Linked DNA regions of Homo sapiens: region 2 is linked to region 1. Evidence: promoter capture Hi-C in 16 types of primary human blood cells and fetal thymus (Javierre and others, 2016). All regions are on one chromosome and are shown on one strand. The core of a region is centred on a gene start or on the middle of the fragment in contact, and the rest is flanking DNA. Distances in the headings are between cores, read along the strand shown.

The links. Contacts are between HindIII fragments. The CHiCAGO score rates a contact against its expected background, and 5 or more counts as called.
Region 2: the fragment with the promoter of PAF1 here is called in contact with the fragment with the promoter of IGFLR1 in region 1 in 1 of 17 cell types (fetal thymus); the score reaches 6.5 in fetal thymus.

What each region holds. Positions count from the first base shown.
Region 1 is chr19:35,740,082-35,744,899 of GRCh38, reverse strand. IGFLR1 (IGF like family receptor 1) reads left to right here and starts at 2,448. Exons shown (of 5, transcript NM_024660.4): 1 at 2,448-2,504; 2 at 3,677-3,876; 3 at 4,336-4,520; 4 at 4,812-4,818. The coding sequence starts at 3,720. It overlaps U2AF1L4 (U2 small nuclear RNA auxiliary factor 1 like 4), which reads left to right. Exons shown (of 6, transcript NM_001040425.3): 3 at 479-577; 4 at 755-888; 5 at 996-1,091; 6 at 2,097-2,373. The coding sequence ends at 2,181. RefSeq lists silencers at 770-930, 4,233-4,362 and enhancers at 2,266-2,695, 4,043-4,152, 4,500-4,818. The HindIII fragment of the contact is 10,043 bases long and covers 1-4,818 here.
Region 2 is chr19:39,389,324-39,394,950 of GRCh38, reverse strand. It overlaps PAF1 (PAF1 component of Paf1/RNA polymerase II complex), which reads left to right and starts at 3,845. Exons shown (of 14, transcript NM_019088.4): 1 at 3,845-4,133; 2 at 4,662-4,691; 3 at 4,790-4,882; 4 at 5,190-5,311; 5 at 5,405-5,471; 6 at 5,568-5,627. The coding sequence starts at 4,087. It overlaps MED29 (mediator complex subunit 29), which reads right to left and starts at 3,573. Exons shown (of 4, transcript NM_017592.4): 1 at 3,313-3,573; 2 at 2,429-2,487; 3 at 1,314-1,398. The coding sequence starts at 3,528. It also overlaps a transcript of SAMD4B not described here. RefSeq lists an enhancer at 3,229-3,518 and a silencer at 5,056-5,187. The HindIII fragment of the contact is 958 bases long and covers 3,509-4,466 here.

The DNA.
Region 1 (4,818 bases), core at 1,199-3,698:
ATCTTTGCCAGTCCCTTCCATCCCGCTGTTCATCCTTGCCAGTCCCCTCCATCCCTTTTCTGGTTTCTTAGGGGCAAAGGATCGCCGATGCACTCATGATGCTTAGGCTGGGGTGTAAGGTTCCACCCCCAACCTTCATGCCTCACTCTCTGTTCATGCAGCCCTGCCCTCTGAGCTCAGGCCCCGCCCCTTTTAAATTCTGTGCAGACCATAGTGCTGCTCAACCTGTACCGGAATCCACAGAACACAGCCCAAACTGCAGACGGATCACACTGTGAGTAAGGGACCAGGCCTGGGGGCAAGGTGAACAGCCCCCAGTAGGCTACACTCTGATTCCACCCTGCCCGCCCCCACCCCAGGTCATGTGAGTGACGTGGAGGTGCAGGAGCACTATGATAGCTTCTTCGAGGTGAGGGTTGGTAGGGGCAGATGGGGTTTCTTGTGGGAGCTCAGCTGAGTTCCTCCCCGTCTTCCACAGGAGGTGTTCACAGAACTGCAGGAGAAGTATGGGGAGATTGAAGAGATGAATGTGTGCGACAACCTTGGGGACCACCTCGTGGGCAACGTCTATGTCAAGGTGCTTGCTGCCCCCCACTTAGGGCCCAGAAGTGGAGGCGTTTCAATGCCTGATGGTGGCCACTGTAGGCTCTCAGCTTGAATTTCATCACTAAATCCAGTCCAGCCCCAGAGCGGGTAGTGAGTCCCCTGAAGATCTCTGAGTTCTCCTGCTGACCCTGACTGACATTTCCTGCAGTTCCGGAGGGAGGAGGATGGAGAGCGGGCCGTGGCTGAACTCAGTAACCGCTGGTTCAACGGGCAGGCTGTGCACGGTGAGCTGTCTCCTGTCACTGACTTCCGGGAGTCATGCTGTCGCCAGTATGAGATGGGGTATGGTAGTTCAAGGGTGGGATGGGCACTTGGAATCCCAGACTTTGAATGCGTGGTAGGGGCTGTCAGTGACAATGGCTTCCTCCATCTCTCTACCCTCTATGCAGGGAATGTACCCGAGGTGGCTTCTGCAACTTCATGCATCTGCGGCCCATTTCCCAGAACCTCCAGAGGCAGCTCTATGGGCGGGGACCCAGGCGCAGGTACCTCAGGACCAGCCTGCTATGTCTCCTCATGTCCTAAGGCCCCTATATCCTCAGATGAGCCTAACCCTAAGCCCCAGTAACCACGTTCCCAAGAATCTTTTTTTTTTTTTTTTTTTTTTGAGATGGAGCCTCACTCTGTTGCCCAGGCTGGAGTGCATTGGCACCATCTTGGTTCATGGCAACTTCCGCCTCCCGGGTTCAAGCAATTCTCTGCCTCAGCCTCCCAAATAGCTGGGATTACAGGCACCTGCCACCATGCCCGGCTAATTTTTGTGTTTTTAGTAGAGATGGGGTTTCACCATCTTGGCCAGGCTGGTCTGAACTCCTAACCTCGTGATCCACCTGCCTCACCCTCCCAAAGTGCTGGGATTACAGGCGTGAGCCACCACTCCCGGCTGACTGTTTTTTTTTTTTTTTTTTTTTTTTTTTTTTGAGACGGAGTTTTGCTCTTCTTCCGCAGGCTGGAGTGCAAAGGCGCAGTCTTGGCTCAGTGCAACCTCTGCCTCCCAGGTTCAAGCAATTCTCCTTTCTCAGCCTCCCAAGTAGCTGGGATTATAGGCACCTGCCACCATGCCTGGCTAATTTTTGTATTTTTAGTAGAGATGGGGTTTCACCACGTTGGCCAGCCTGGTCTCGAACTCCGGACCTCAGGTAATCCACCCATCTCGGCCTCCCAAAGTGTGGGGATTACAGGCGTGAACCACTGCGCCCGGTCATTCCCAAGACTCTTATACCCTAAGAGTAGTTCTGAGCTCCATCTGGAGACCAGTACCTAAGTCCCAATCCCCAAACCAGCCTGAACCCCTAATCCACGACCAGCCTGGATTGCCACCCCTGATACTGGCCACTGAGTTCCCCTGATACTGGCCACTGAGGTCGTGTCTTAGAACTCTAGTTATTTCAGCACCCTCCTGCCTCATCCCAGAGCAGAGAGGCAGGCCTGCAGGATCTCTGCACCACTCCTCAGGGTTCTAACAGAACTCTCAACGCTCCTATTCCCAGGTCACCCCCGAGGTTCCATACTGGCCACCATCCCCGAGAGAGGAACCATCGGTGTTCCCCTGATCACTGGCATGGCCGCTTCTGAGGCCCTGGCCCCCTTACCCTTCACCCCCAACAGGGACAGATGTTCCTGGCAGGACCTCTCCTCAAAGCCCCCTTCACTCTCCTGCCCCATCCTTCCCAGGCTCCCGGGCTCCATAATGTAATCTGTTCAGCATGGAGACCTTCTTCTACCGCCCCTGTCTTAATAAAGCTGCGTGTTTCACTTCGGCATCAACTTGCTTTTGCTGTGGTTTGGCATTTCCCTCCACCCACACATGTGACGAAAAGGGGAAACAAGACTGGGTCCTGGCCACAACTTCAGCTGAGGAACTTGGCACGGCCAGCTTGGGACCCAGGACCCTAACGGTACTGGTAGGGTGGGGACACCTTTGTGCTGAAAACCTTAGCACCTCCATCTGAGGCTTATTCAAGGGGGAGAGACCTGGTTGTGGCAGGTGGGAGGAGCCCTAGCCCCAAGGAGATTAGGATTCAAAGGTGAGGTGAGGTGCTGGGAGGTGGTCTCCAGCCAGTATGGGGCTGACTCCTCCGTGCCTGCCGAATTGTGATGGGAGTTAGTAATGCCTTACACTTAAACACTGAGTTTACTGTATGTGAGGTGCTGTTTTCAGCACTTTAGTTTGTTTTTGTTTTTTTTAAGGAGTTTCATTCCTGTTGCCCAGGCTGGAGTGCAATGGCACGATCTCAGCTCACTGCAGCCTCCACTTCCCAGGTTCAAGCAATTCTGCCTCAGCCTCCCAAGTAGCTGGGATTTACAGGCATGCGCTACCACGCCCGGCTAATTTTGTATTTTTAATAGAGACAGGGTTTCACCATGTAGGCCAGGCTGGTTTTGAACTACTGACCTCAGGTGATCCACCCACCTGGGCCTCCCAAAGTGTTGGGATTACAGGCATGAGCCACTGCGCCCGGCGGCCAGTTTTTTTTGTTTTTAGAGATGAGGTCTTGCTGTGTTGCCCAGGCTGGTCTGTAATTCATGGCTCAAGCAATCCTCCTACCTTGGCCTCCCTAGTAGCAGGGACTACAGACGTGAGCCACTGCACTTGGCAAAGTGCTTTGCTGTTTTTTTTTTTTTTTTTTTTTTTTGTAAAGATGGGGTTTCATTTTGTTGTCCAGGCTGATCTCTCGAACTCCTGGGCTCAAGTGATCCTCCTGTCTTGGCCTCCCAAAGTGTTGGGATTACAGGCATGAGCCACCACACCCAGCCCCTGCTTTACTTCTAATGACGGTTCTAATTCTCCACAATAACCCTATGAGACAGGTGCTATCATTGTCTTATTTTAGGGATGGAAAAGGGAGGGTGGGTGGGTGAGGACACGGCAGAGGTGGGATATGCATTCTTGCAATCTAGATCCGCAGCCCTGTTAGTCCCCTAGTGGCCTTGTGGGCTTCTCTGATAACCGGCTCAGTTGGGGGATGAGGGCTCGGGGGTAGATTCCCGGCTTCCGAAGAGGCGTGAGAATTCTGTTCCCCCACATCACCGCGTCCTTTCTTCTGCCCGATTTCCCCGGAAAGTGTAGCAGAGGCGCTGTGTTTGGAAGTCCCGCTATCACGGCCCCCCAGATGGGGCCTGGACGATGCCTCCTGACGGCCTTGTTGCTTCTGGCCCTGGCGCCACCGCCGGAAGCCTCCCAGTACTGCGGCCGCCTTGAATACTGGAACCCAGACAACAAGTGCTGCAGCAGCTGCCTGCAACGCTTCGGGCCGCCCCCCTGCCCGGGTGAGAATCCGAGACCGAGCCTTGCTTGGGCGGAGCTTGCAGGTGATAGGGAGCGGGGAAGGGGCGAGGTCTGTGGGCTACGGGCCAGAGAGGCTTGCTTAGGGGTCTAAGCGGTGGGCCTTATGCAGATCAGACAGGGATGGCAGGCAGAGCCTGTGCAGATAGTGCGGGCTACCGTAGGGCAACAGCGAATGGATATGGCTGGAGAGGCGGGATAGGGGCCGCGTGGAAAGGGTGGGCTTTATGTAGAGAAGCCGGGAGTGGGCGGAGCTTCGTGCGGAGCAGGCTGGAGGGGGGTGAAAAGGCGAGCCCGGAGAAAAGTGACAAGACCGGGGCGCACGCTAATAGGCTGGAAGCGTCCTGGAGGGGCGGGGCACGCTGGGATAGGGCGAAGGGAGAGGGCGTTGCCCGCGCAGGGGCGGGCTAGGCGGCCGCACTGGAGCGCAGCTTTCCCGCTAGACTATGAGTTCCGGGAAAACTGCGGACTCAATGACCACGGCGATTTCGTAACGCCCCCGTTCCGAAAGTGTTCTTCTGGGCAGTGCAACCCCGACGGCGCGGAGCTATGTAGCCCCTGCGGCGGCGGAGCCGTGACCCCTACTCCCGCCGCGGGCGGGGGCAGAACCCCGTGGCGCTGCAGAGAGGTGCAGATGGGACTCCCGGCAGGGCAAGGGCGTGCTGGAGGTGGGGGGCCTAGATGTAGGGAGCCGGCGTAGCCCCACGTAAGGGGTGGGGCCGTGGTTTCAGGAGGTGGCTGGCCTGCAGGGGTCGGGAGGTCCTAGGTTAAGGTAGTTGGGCCTTGCGGGGCCCAACTACCTTATCAGATACCGTATCAGATGGGATGTGGCCCCATTAAAGGATATAAAGTTGGGAGGTTTGGGAGCGGGCAGGAGTGGAGTGTGGCCTCCAGCTTTACTCCAACCCCTTATCCCCAGAGGCCGG
Region 2 (5,627 bases), core at 2,596-5,095, 3.6 Mb before region 1:
AAGTAGAGGCTGCAGTGAGCCGAGACTGTGCCACTGCAGTCCAGCCCGGGCGACACAGTGAGACTCTGACTTGGAGGAAAAAAAAAAAAAGCCGGGTGTGGTAGCTCACGCCTGTAATCCCAGCACTTTGGGAGGGTGAGGTGGGTGGATCACAAGGTCAAGAGATCAAGACCATCCTGGCCAACATGGTGAAACCCCATCTCTACTAAAAATACAAAAATTTGCTGGGCGTGGTGGTGCGTGCCTGTAGTCCCAGCTACTCAGGAGGCTGAGGCAAGAGAATCGCTTGAACCTGGGAGGCCAAGGTTGCAGTGAGCTGAAGTCGCGCCACTGTACTCTAGCCTGGCGACAGAGTGAGACTCTGTCTCAAAAAAAAAAAAAAAAAAAAAAAAAAGGCCGGGTGCAGTGGCTCATGCTTGTAATCCTAGCACTTTAGGAGACTGAGGCGGGTGGATCACTTGAGGCCAGGAGTTCAAGACCAGCCTGGCCAAAATGGTGAAACCCCATCTCTACTAAAAATACAAAAATTAGCCAGGCGTGGTATGCCTATAGTCCCAGTTACTTGGGAGGCTGAGGCACCAGAATCGCTTGAAACTGGGAGGAGGAGATTGCAGTGAGCCTAGATCGTGCCACTGCACTCCAGCCTGGGTGATGGTGAGACTGTCCTCCCCCACACCCCCCCACCAAAAAAACCAGTCCAAAATAATGATGATACTACAGTACACATTTGCCATATGCCTGGTATCATGTTAAGCAGTTTACACGCATAATCTAAGTTTTCCTGGAAACTCCGTTTTCCTAAGGAGGAACCCAGAGGTCAGAGGTAGAGATTGATGGTGCATCTGACTCCAGAGGCTGTATTCTTAGTCACTTACCCTCCTCTCAACTCCTGCCCCTCTTCTCTTCTTTGTTTCAGACTTGGTCAGATGTGCTGTCTAGCAGTAGCCTTCCCTAAGCCACTCTCTCCCTATCCCCACCCTGGGCTTCCACACTGAGATTTCCCCATCCCAGCCCTGATCCCTCTGCCTGTGCCTCCTCAATCATAACCCTAACCACTCTGGCCTAGGCTTCTCCCATCACAGCACTGACCACTCTGAGCTGTCACTGTTTAGGGGTGTGCTTATTATTCCACTCAACTGAAAGCTCTGCAAGGGCAAGGATCAGAGCAACCCTGTGTCCTCAGTGTTGGTGGAAGCACAGGTCTGGCCCACAGGAGGTCCCCAGTTGAGTGTGAGTTGACTGACTGACTGTTTCTGAAGACCCCAGAGACTGGGACACGGCTGTTGTTACCCCGTGTCCAGAAGGCTTCTTACCAGGCACAGCTCCAGCTGGTCACAGAGTGCATAGAACTCTTCCAGGCACTTGTCAAAGCGCTGTATGGGTCCATCACTGCTCTTTCTACAGACAAGGAAAAAAGGATGTCTGAAGAATTGATTTCTAATCTTTGGGACACCAGTATCTACCCAACCAAGTGTCCATCAGGAAACCAGGTACAGGTCCAGGAGATCTGAAGTAGTGGTTGAAAACCGGAGGGGTTCAAAAAAAAAGAAAAGGAGGCTGGGCACGGTGGCTCACGCCTGTAATCCCAGCACTTTGGGAGTCCGAGGCGAGCAGATCACCTGAGGTCAGGAGTTCAAGACCAGCCTGGACAACATGGTGAAACCCCATCTCTACTAAAAATACAAAAATTAGCCAGATGTGCTGGCACGCGCCTGTAGTCCCAGCTACTTGGGAGGCCGAGGCAGGAGAATCATTTGAACCCGGGAGGCAGAGGTTGCAGTGAGCTGAGACTACACCACTGCACTCCAGCCTGGGCGACAGAGCAAGACTCTGTCTCAAAAAAAAAAAAAAAAAAAAAAAAAAAAAAAAGAAAAGAAAGAAAGAAAGAAAGAAAAGGAAAAGGCTGGGCATGATGGTTCATGCCTGTCATCCCAGCACTTTGGGAGGCCAAGGTGGAAGGACTGTTTGAACCCAGGAGTTTGAGACCAGCCTGGACAACGTGGCAAGACCCTGTCTCTACAAAACAACAACAAAAATAAAATAAAATAGGAGAAGTGATTCGTGAGGCTGAGGGGATGGCTAGAGGCCAGGAGTTTGAGACCAGCCTGGGAAACATAGCAAGACTCCGTCTCTATAAAAAAATCTTACAAATTAGCCAGGCATCTGTAGTCTGTAGCCATGTCTGTAGTCCTGGCTACTTGGGAGGCTGAGGCAAGAGGATCTCCTAACTCAGGTGTTCAAGGCTGCAATGAGCCAAGATCGTGCCACTGTAGTCCAGCCTGGGTGACAGAGGGAGACCCTGTCTCAAAAAAAAAAAAAAAAAAAAGTAAATATAGAAGGTGAGGTGGGCGGGGAGCAGGAGAAGGAAAGATGAATTTCAAAGACTGGGAAGGCAATAGAATATCCTGGTAAAGGGGGCTGCACTCACTGTCCATTGTCGATGTTAGTGTTCTGAATCAAGTTTTGGGCCGCAACCTTCATCAAGGTCTAGTCAAAACAAAAACAAAACACGTGGGAAATGGAAAAACAAAAGGGAATACCTCTGGCAGATCTACACTCTTTCTTGAGATCACTCAGTCTCAGGTTTTCTTTTCAACTGGCACCTTCCCTCCTGACTTTCCAAAGTAATATTCGTTTCCATTCCTATAGCTGTCACCACTCCATCCTCCCAGAGGCCCGCTCTCACCTGAGCTTCTCGCCAATAACCTAAGGGTCCTCCCTCACCTATCAATCAAGGGCAGAATCTCCGTATAAGCCAGTACTCTCCTCAGGCTTTAACGACCAGAGCCCAGTTTCTCCTTTAAACAACCCCTCACTCAAGCTCCGGCCAGTCCCAGCCTCAGCATCAGCGCTGATCCCATCTCTGCCGAGCTTCGCTTAGGTCTCGCAGAAAACAACAGTTTTATTTATTTATTTATTTATTTTTTTGACGGAGTCTCGCTCTGTTGCCCAGGCTGGAGTGCAATGGCACGATGTCGGCTCACTGCAACCTCCGCCTCCTGGGTTCAAGCGATTCTCCTGCCTCAGCTTCCCGAGTAGCTGTAATTACAGGCGCGCGCCACCATGCCCGGCTAATTTTTGTATTTTTAGTAGAGACGAGGTTTCACCAGGCTGGTCTTGAACTCCTGACCTCAAGTGATCCGCCCGCCTCGGCCTCCCAAAGTGCTGGGAACACAGGCGTGCACCAGCCAGGCCAAAACAGCAGGTTCTATTCCTCTTTCTGCTTAGCGCTCTCTCCGACTAACCTGGCCCTCGGCCTGCCCCTCTAGACTACCAAATCCAGTTTGCTTCTCGCTGCTTAAGGCCAATCACCTGTAGACTCTCCTTCAGCTGCGGGATGAGCATCTTATAACGCTGCACAGGATCGAAGTCCTGTTGCTGTTGCTGCAGGAGGCCGCTCTGGGCAGGGCCCACCAGTTGTGCTGGCGGTTGCGGCTGCTGCTGGGGACCCGGGCCGCCAGCCGAACTAGGACCCGATACACCAGCAGCTGAGGAAGCCGCTGAAGCTTGCTGCTGGGATGCAGCCATCTTCCTCGCGTAGACCGCCGGAAGTGCGTTACGACTGCGTCTCTCCCCGTTGCTTTTCAGCATCCCTATTTCTAGTCCCCGTTTGCTAGTTAGTCCCGCCCCCTAGGCAATTAAGCCAATGGAGGGGAAGGAGGTGCCCCAACGTTACGTCACTCTCAAATCTGCGTCCAGACTGAGATATCTCTCCACCAATCACAGAAGCACCTCTCTCCCTCGCTCCGCCCTTCACCCAGACGCTCGCCAATCCGTGTGTGGTTCCGAGCCGGACTTCATTTCCCCGAAGGCGTCGCGGCCTGAGGAGACCCGTTGGGTCCTCAGCGTCTTGGCGGCAGTTGGTGGAACCGGAGCTTCGAGTCCGTCCCCGGTGCTGCCTGCGCGTTCACCTGAGTCTCGCTGGAGCTCTTCTCGCCCGCCCACCTCATCTCAACCCACTTTCCGCGGGGAGCGGCGCCAAGCTGGGCCTTCCTCGGATCAGGCGTCCCCTGAAGTCGGCACGCCCCTCTGCGTCCCCCTTCGGTCCCGCTAGGACCCCGTCCGGGCTGCCGTCGCCTCGTCGCTATGGCGCCCACCATCCAGACCCAGGCCCAGCGGGAGGATGGCCACAGGTAGGCGCCACGCTTTTCTGTTGCAGCAAGGCGGGGGATCGGGAGAGGGTTTCTGCTGAACAACGTCACCAGCCCCCAGGTCTGCCCGTGACGTCATGAAGCGCTCACCTTTGACGAAGGGGGCGGGTTCCTTCTGAGATTCAGGTGTTCCCCTCCTCCCCGCCGTGCAGTTCAGGGATTAGGCTTTTGGAGACTCCCTCCAGAAGGGATCCCTCCAGTCAACCGTTTGGAGACCCCTCTTCCGAAGACGATTGAGTACATGGTTCTTTATTAAAGCACTTGAAGCCATCTCCTGCAAAAGGGATTGAGCACTTGGCCTTGTTCATTAAAGCTTTTGGGGGCATTTCTTCCTAAATAAATTGAACATTTGTCTCCTTCCATTAAAGCATTTGGACACTCCCCACACCACCACCCAAAGAAACCAGCATTTGTCACCCCTCCTACCTTTTGAAAGGTTGGGGAAGCCTTTTTCATTCTCCTGTCAATCCCGTCCTCTCCACCTATCACTGTTTCTTTCTTCTCCACTAGGCCCAATTCCCACCGGACTCTGCCTGAGAGGTGAGCCCCACTGTGCTTTCCCAGGAGCGGTGGGGCAGTGGGGCTGGGAGCAGAGGTGGGGCAGCGGGGGCCCACTTTTGAGCCACTAATGTTCCTAGGTCTGGAGTGGTCTGCCGAGTCAAGTACTGCAATAGCCTCCCTGATATCCCCTTCGACCCCAAGTTCATCACCTACCCCTTCGACCAGAACAGGTGAGACTAAGGAATGGGAAAACTACTCAGGTATGAGTTCCTTGAAGGCAGGGACTGCTTGTCTCGTTGGCTGCTGTCTGCTCAGGGCCTAGCACAGTACCTACCCTAGCACATAGTAGTAGCTGCTCAATTGTTAATGGAGCAAGCAGTGTCCAAGTCCCTTCCCACTGGGGAGCCAGCTTTCAGACTCTGCCATGGGGGACACTTCATTCTGAGTTCCTCCCCAGAGAAGCTCCGCCTCTGGGAAGCAGGGCTGTGAGGGGTGAAGCTGGAATCCAAACACCACAATAGGTGTTTCCCCACCCAGGTTCGTCCAGTACAAAGCCACTTCCTTGGAGAAACAGCACAAACATGACCTCCTGACTGAGCCAGACCTGGGGGTCACCATCGATCTCATCAATCCTGACACCTACCGCATCGACCCCAATGGTGTGTGGGGAGACAGGGAGGGTCTGCTCTAGGTCAGCAAAGGCTCAGGCCTGGGCCTCCCTCATGGTCCTCCTGCCCCCCGCTCTCCTCTAGTTCTTCTAGATCCAGCTGATGAGAAACTTTTGGAAGAGGAGATTCAGGCCCCCACCAGCTCCAAGAGGTGAGTGGGTAGCAAATGGGTACTGGAGACTGGCTCAGGTGGGCCCTACAAGCAGGAGGGCAGTGGGGTCCTGAGATACCTGATTTCCCACCCCAGATCCCAGCAGCACGCGAAGGTGGTGCCATGGATGCGAAAGACAGAGTACATCTCCACTGA